2 separate regions of the Homo sapiens genome follow, and region 1 is linked to region 2. The links are contacts of gene promoters, found by promoter capture Hi-C in blood cells and fetal thymus (Javierre and others, 2016). All regions are on one chromosome and are shown on one strand. The core of a region is centred on a gene start or on the middle of the fragment in contact, and the rest is flanking DNA. Distances in the headings are between cores, read along the strand shown. Region 1 has its middle 40 kb from the start of NNMT. Region 2 holds the start of NXPE1 (neurexophilin and PC-esterase domain family member 1).

Region 1 (3,981 bases), core at 1,118-3,617, 220 kb before region 2:
AAAGCAGTGAAAGAGAAAAAATACCTTGCCTACAAGGGAGCAAAGATAAAAATTACACCTGACTTCTCAGAAACCATACAAGCGAGAAGACAATAAAGTGAAATATTTAAAGCGTTGAGAGGAAAAAGACCCACCAGCCTACAATTCTGTATACAGCAAATTTATCTTTCAAAAGTGAAGGAGAAATAAAGACATTCTCAGACAAACAAAAATTGAAAAATTTGTTACCAGTGACTTGCCTTGCAAGAAATGTTGAAAAAAATTATTTAGAGAGACTAAAAATTATAGGTCAGAAATTCAGCTCTACATCAATAAAGAAAAATACTGAAGAAGAAATAAATGAAAGTAAAATTTAAAATTATTTTTCATATTCTTAATTTATGTAACAAATAAGAGTTTATTCAAAATAAAATAGCAACAATGTATTTTATTACACATGCTTATGTATAAGTAAAATGAATGACAGAATGATACAAGGGGGGGGAATTAGGATCATTTTGTTATAATAAGCACTAACCAAGAAGCAGTATAATGTTTGGCGAAAATGGACTTGGATTAATTGTAAATGTATATTGCACACTCTAGGGCAACCACTAAAAAAAGTAAAAAGTATAACTGATATGATAAGAAAGGAGAGAAAATTGAATCATATAAAGTTGCTAAATTAAAATAACTAAAGGCAGAACAAGAGTGAAAGACAAAAATAGAAACGAAGAACAAGGGTAACAAAAACAGTAACAAATATGATAGATATTAACCCAATTATATCAATAATCACTTTGAATATGAGTGGTCTTAAGCACAACAATTAAAAGACAGAGAATGTTAGAATGGATCAAGAAACAAGACTCAGTTACAGGTTGTCTATAAGAAACCTCCTTTAAATATAAAGACTCATATCAATTGAAAGTAAATGGATGGAGAAAGGTATACTATGCTAAAACTAATCAAAAGAAAGTGGAAGAAACTAGAACAATTTCAGACACAGAACACTTCACAGCAAGTAAAGTTATTAGGGATAAAGAGGAGCATTGCCGAATGATAAAGGGGTCAGTTCTCTAAGAAGACATAGCAATCCTTAATGTGTGTGCACCTAATAACACAGCATCAAAATACATGAAGCAAAAACTGATAGAACTGTGAGGAGAAATAGATGAGTCCACTAGTATAGTGGGAGAGTTCAACATCCCTCTATCAGAAATGGACAGATTCAGCAGGCAGAAAATCATTAAGAACATAATCAAATTCAAAAACATCATCTATAAACTGTAAATAATGGACAGCTATAAACTAGTTCATCCAGCAATAGCAGAATTCACTGTACATTCTTCTCAAGCTCACATGGAATATTCATCAAGATAGACCACATTCTAGACCACTTCATATACCTTAACAAATGTAAAAAAAAAGTAGAAATCGTAGTGTCTGCTCTCAGACCACAATGGAATTAAACTAGAAATTTATAATAGAAGGATAGCTGAAAAATCCCCCAATACTTGGAGATACAAATACAACATGTGTCTAAATAATACAAGGGTCAAAGCAGAAATCTCAGGAGAAATTAAAAAGTACTTTGAACTAAATGAAAATAACACAAGTTATCAAAAACTGTGCAGTGCAATAAAAGTAGTGCTAAGGGGGAAATTGATAGCATGGAGTGCATATATTAGAAAATAGGAAAGATTTAAAAGAAATCACCTAAGCTTTCATCTTCGGAAACTGGAAAAACAAGAGCGAACTAAATCTATACTGAACAGAAGAAGAGAAACAATAAAAATTAGAGCAGAAATCAATGAAATTGAAACAGAAAATTAACAGAGAAAAATCAATAAAACCAAAAGCTGGTTCTTTGAAAAGATCAATAAAATTAATAAGCCCATAGCCAGGCTAACTTAGAAAAAAGAGAGAGAGGAAGAACATAAATTAGTAATATCAGAGATGAAAGAGGGGACATCATTACAAAAGTCATGTACATTAAAAGGATAATAAAGGAATACTGTGAACAACTTTATGCTTACAAATTTGATAACCTAGCTAAAATAGACCAATTTCTTGAAAGACGCAATCTGCCAAAACTCACATAAGAAGTAATACACACTGAATAAGGGTATATCTATTCAACTGAAAATGAATCAATAATTAATAGCCTCCTAAAGCAGAAAGCATCAGGTCAAAATGGGTTCGCTGGTGAATTCTACCAAACGTTTAAGGAAAAAAGCACACCGATTTTCTACAACCTCTTTCAAAGATAGAAGCACAAGGAATACTTCCTAACTCATTCTATGAAGTCAACATCACCTTCATACCAAAACCAGGCAAACACATTGGAAGAAAATAAATCCGCAGTTCAATATATCTTGGCTGGGTGCAGTGGCTCACGCCTGTAATCCCAGCACTTTGGGAGGCCGAAGCGGGAGGATCACCTGAGGTCAGGAGTTCGAGACCAGCCTGGCCAATATGGCAAAACCCTGTCTCTACTAAAAATACAAAAATTAGCCGGGTGTGGTGGTGCATGCCTGTGATCCCAGCTACTACTCAGGAGGCTGAGACAGGAGAATCGCTTGAACCTGGGAGGCAGAGATTGCAGTGAGCCAAGATCACGTCACTGTACTCCAGAGAGACTCTGTCTCCAAAAAAAAAAAAAAAAAATCCACAGTTCAGTATCTCTCATGAACATAGATGCAAAAATTCTCAACAAAATGTTAACAAATTGAATCCATCAAAGTATAAAAAGAATTGTGTGCCACACCAAGGGGGATTTATCCCAGGAATGAAAGGCTGTTTCAACATTTGACAACTAATTAAGGCTATCCATCATATCAACAGGCTAAAGAACAAAATACAGATGATTACATCAATAGATGTAGAAAAAACCTTTGACAAAATCTAACACTTGCTCATGATAAAAGAAAAAGAAAAAGAAAAAAAAAACTCCTCAGTAAATGAGAAATAGAGGGGGAACTTCCTCAACTTGATAAAGAATATCTACAAAAAATATACAGATAACGTCATATTTAATGGTGAGAAATTAGAAGCTTTCTCATTAAGATCAGGAACAAGGCAAACACATACTCTCTCACCACAGCTTTTCAACATTATGCTAGAAATCCTAGCTAATGCAATGAGATAAGTAAAGAAAATGTATACTGACTGAGAAGGAAGAAATAAAACTATCTTGTTCACAAAAGACATGATTGTCTAAAAGAAAATCTGAAAGAATCAGGCCAGGTGTGGTAGCTCACGCCTGTAATCCCAGCACTTTGGGAGGCCGAGGCGGGTGGATCACAAGGTCAGGAGTTCAAGGCCAGCCTTACCAACATGGTGAAACCCCATCTCTACTAAAAATACAAAAATTAGCCAGGTGTGGTGGCGTGTGCCTGTAATCCCAGCTACTCAAGAGGCTGAGGCAGGAGAATTGCTTGAACCCAGGAGGCGGAGGTTGCAGTGAGCCGAGATCACACCACTGCACTCCAGCCTGGACGACAGAGCGAGACTCCATCTCAAAATAAAAAAAGAAAGAAAATCTGAAAAATCAAGAAAAAAAGCTCCTGGAACTAATAAACAATTATAACAAGGTTTCAGGATGCAAGGTTAATATACAAAAGTCAATCATTTTTCTGCATAGCAACAATGAACAAGTGGAATTTGATATTAAAAAGAAATTGTCATTTATATTAACAGTGCCTCAAAATAAAATACTTGGGTATAAATCTAACAAAACCTGTACATGGTCTATATAAGGAAGGCCATAAAACTGATGAAAGAAACCAATGAAAAACTAAATAAATAGAGAAATATTCCATGTTCATAGATAGAAAAACTCAGTATTAGTCAAGATATTAGTTCTTCACAACTTGATCTATAGATTCAATGCAATCAAAATCAAAATCCTAGTAAGATATTTTGTGGCTATCAATAATCTGATTCCAATGTTTATATGAAGAGTCAAAAGACAGTCAATAACCACCACAAGATTGAAAG
Region 2 (3,980 bases), core at 824-3,323:
GTGACAAATTCTCAAGGTTACATTTTAAAAAATCTTATTTTGCTTTCATTTTGAGGGTTTCTTTTGCGGGCTATACAATTCTAGATTGACAAGTGTTATTTATTTATTTTTGTTTTTGGTGGTTAAAAGCATCAGCACTTTGAATATGTTACCTCATTTTCCTTCTATTTCCCTAACTGCCCTTTGTTCCTCTCTTGCTTTCTCTCTAGAATCTAGATCTCTCAACCCCTCACTGCCCCAGTTGCTCTCTGACGCTTAACAGATCAAATATAACATCCTCTAGCTTTTCTAGTTGCTCTCAAAAGGAGACTATAAGCAAGTCTACTATTTTGGGAAACATAAATTTTATTTATAATTATAAATATAAACTATACACACATCTATGTATATGTGTTTATGTGTGTGTGTATATATATATCCATATATATGCACATTCTATATGTTTTTCTTTTTATTTCATTTTCCAAACAAATATCTGTGGCTGATGTGTAGAAATGCAAGTGCTTTATTTTAATAGTGCTTTTATATAGGCACACATAGAGAACAAAGATGATTAGAAGTGGCCATATTGGGTACGTTTGCCTTGTTTTCATAGTTAGTTTCAACATTTTACTATGTGTAATTAAATATATGATGTTGGATTTGTGATATTTGCTTTTCTTAATGCCTTCTATTAGATTGAGGAAGTTCTCTTTTAAGAAAGTTTGTGAAGTGTTTCTATTACTAATGGAAGTTGAGTTATTGACAAAGGCCTTTTCTGATTCATTGAGGTAATTATATGAATTTTTAAACTTTTATGTTTAAATGTGATGTATTACATTCGTATATTTTCTAAAGCTAAACAATCCTCCTGTTATGGACTTAAGCTGAACTAGGTCACAATATAGATTGGATCTTTATACATAACTCTGCTGTGCTATGTAAGAGTACAAATTAACATGATCGTTTTGAAAGCAGAATGGCAATATTTCTGTTAGTTTGTGTTTATCTATGCCCTATGTCCAAGCAATTCATTCTGGATACATCACAGAGGACTTCTCAGTCAGGTCCATAAAGAATCACATACAAAGTTTGTTTTCAGTTGATTATATGTATAGCTGTAATTGTAGGGAATTAAATAGACTTTAATATGTATTACTATGAAATGGTTAAGAAACATGTAGTGGATGTGTATTGTGGGATACTATCCAACAGTTAGATACAACTCACTAGATTTACCTGTAATATGAAGAGCTCTTAAAAACAGCTCTAAGTGAAGAAAGAAATAAACATAAATCTTTATCACATTTTTATGTAAATTAAAAATATACATACAAAGCACAATACATGGATACACACATACTCAAAGACAAAAATTAAAAAAGAATCCTTCCTGCTTTTCTGGCTTTGTTTATGACTCATCCTACTGCCCACCTGGGGTGGCCTGCCCCTGCACCAATCTAGACTCTATAGTCAGTGAATCCCCAGCTCAGGGGCAATCTCTACAGGAAACTTTCCAGCATAACTCTAGACCACAACGATCTCTCCCGTATTTTGAATTCCTGTGACATATTCATACATTTTCCACCCAAACAATGTCATACATAAAACAAGGCAAAGAAATATCAGTTGTAAACAGGTATTTTTGATGTCCTTCTTCCTCTCTCCAACTAGATGTTAGGTTGAGTGACTGTATCCATGCTTGCTTCCCACAAAGCACTGGGGACTTTTGCTGGTTGGTTATTAGAGAAATATTTTATCTTGATGCTGTCTCACCGTCAAAACCAGCCTATCCTTGTCAGTAAGAGAGGCTCTCACTATCAGTTTTTTTTTTTGTTTCCCACACTTTCTTCTGAGCTTTCTCCCTTTTCTTATCTTTCTCTGACTTGAGAGAACCCCTCAGCAGACACAGTCTTTCTAATTTCTTTTGCTTTGTTCTTCCCTGCCCTCCACTGACCACTGGCAAGATTAGAAATAGAGAAAGGCAGTCTCCATAGTTTTGCTTACTCACCTGTTTTAATGATCTCTCCTATCTGGGTGGCTGGAAAAGTACCTGTGAGTTCTTAACTGGCTCTTGTGGCTGTGTAAAATGTTTTTGTTCCTTGTCTGTGAACACATTTATTTTCATCAGTCTGTTTTCCTCGTAAATTGGCTTATCTTGGGGTGGAGATTTGAAGAGGCAATAAACAGTAGTACAATTAACTGACAATTAGATAATTCCACAGCCTCTGTTAACTGGGTGTTACTCGGGTATTCTTTGAGATTCCTTCTCTCTCCATGTTACTGGTGACCCTTGGGAATGGAAAACCTCTTAGTTCTGAAACAGCTGTGGTCCTTGAAGTCATAGTGTAAAAATACCCCAAGTGACTCTATGGATAGGCTTTCCTCAGAAAATCTGAAGTCTCACGACAACTCCAAACAAGAGAACAAATTGTCAGTGGACACCATGCAGAGAACTGGTGGGTGATTGAGAATTCTTTTTTTTTCTTTTTTTTTTTTTTTTGGACAAGGTTTTGCTCTGTTGCCCAGGCTGGAGTGCAGTGGCGTGATCATAGCTCACTGCAACCTCGAACTCCTGGGCCCAAGCCATCCTTCTGCCTTGGGCCTAGGGGCTACAGGTGCATGCTGCCACACCTGGCTAATATTTTTAATTTGTATTTTGTAGAGATGGGGTCTTACCATGTTGCCCAGGCTGGTCTTGAACTCCTGGGCTCAAGTGGTCTGTCTTCCTCGGCCACCCAAAGTGCTGGGATTACAGGCATGAGCCACTTTTCCCAGCTGGATCTTTTATCGGTTTGAAAAGGATATCTAATAAATGGGGAAGGACTATTTGCTCTGAGTTAGGGAAAGGGGATATGGTTCATTAACTCGTCATTATCATAAACATTATTTAATTCACCAATACAGTAAATGTTGCTGTAACTTCTGCTATGCCAAATGCCTGTAACATGAAAGGGAATATATGGGTGTATATGAATAATTAGGCCTATTAATCCTTCTTTCCCCTCTAACCCCTGGTCACCACTGGTTTTCTTACTGTCTCCATGGTTTTGACTTTTACAGAATGTCACATAGCTGCAATCATACAGTGTGTAGCTGTCCCAGATTGGCTTTTCTCTTAGCGATACGGATTTCAGTTTCTCTGTCTTTTTGTGGCTTGATAGCTTATTTCTTTAGTGCTGAATAATATTTTACTGACTACATATTGGAGACCTTTCTCTCATGCCTCATGCCCTTCCCTCTGGAACCTTCATATTTGTCATGTGACTGTTACTTCAGCTCTGTAACATAAATCTAACTTCATCTCTCTTTCTAAGCCTGGATGCCCAGACCCTGTGCCAATTTGTAAGATTTAGTTTTGAAGATCACAAGTATTATTAGTACTGTGCTAAGTACTCATAGGATTAAATGAATTAATACATGTACAACATTTAAAAACAGTTTCTGACACTTAGTTTAAGCACTAAATAATTAGCAACTACTACTATCACCACCCCAACTACTACTATTTATGCATGGGAGTAAATTTTGAGATTGGCTTTTTTCTCCCACTCAGCGTAACGTCCACGATGTCCATCCAAGTTATTGCATGTGTCAACAGTTCATATGAACATATTGCCTCACTCACAATTAGGCAATATTGTTTGTTACCTTGGTTTCTTTAACCAATATTGTTTCTAAAACCTACTCCTCACTACTCAATTTGTTTCTTATCTTGTAAAGTCTTTGGTAGCTCTTTCAGAGGGGACCAGTATTAGACTGAGTACATATTTTTTCTTCCTAAATAGATGATAAATTTACTTGCTATAGAATTAGGTGAAAAATATTTTTCTTCTTAGCCTTGAGGATACTGTTTCATTCTCTTCATGCATCCAATGTCATTTATGAAATGTCTGATGTCAAAGTTAGTATAATTGTGAATCTTTGTAGCATTTTTCTCTTCATCCTTGGTATTATGAAATTTTATGCAGATCTTTTTATCTTCATCATGTTTGGCGCTT

Evidence for each region. The method cuts DNA at HindIII sites, captures the fragments that hold promoters and counts their contacts. A CHiCAGO score of 5 or more calls a contact.
Region 1: a contact is called between a fragment that was not itself captured here and the fragment with the promoter of NXPE1 in region 2, in 1 of 17 cell types (erythroblasts). The highest score is 5.0, in erythroblasts.

The regions. Positions count from the first base shown.
Region 1 is chr11:114,334,687-114,338,667 of GRCh38, forward strand. No RefSeq gene overlaps it. Among named protein-coding and RNA genes, the nearest start is that of NNMT, 40 kb to the left of the region's middle. The HindIII fragment of the contact is 1,332 bases long and covers 1,702-3,033 here.
Region 2 is chr11:114,557,808-114,561,787 of GRCh38, forward strand. NXPE1 (neurexophilin and PC-esterase domain family member 1) reads right to left here and starts at 2,074. Exons shown (of 9, transcript NM_001395504.1): 1 at 1,991-2,074. It also overlaps a transcript of NXPE2 not described here. The HindIII fragment of the contact is 13,193 bases long and covers 1-3,980 here.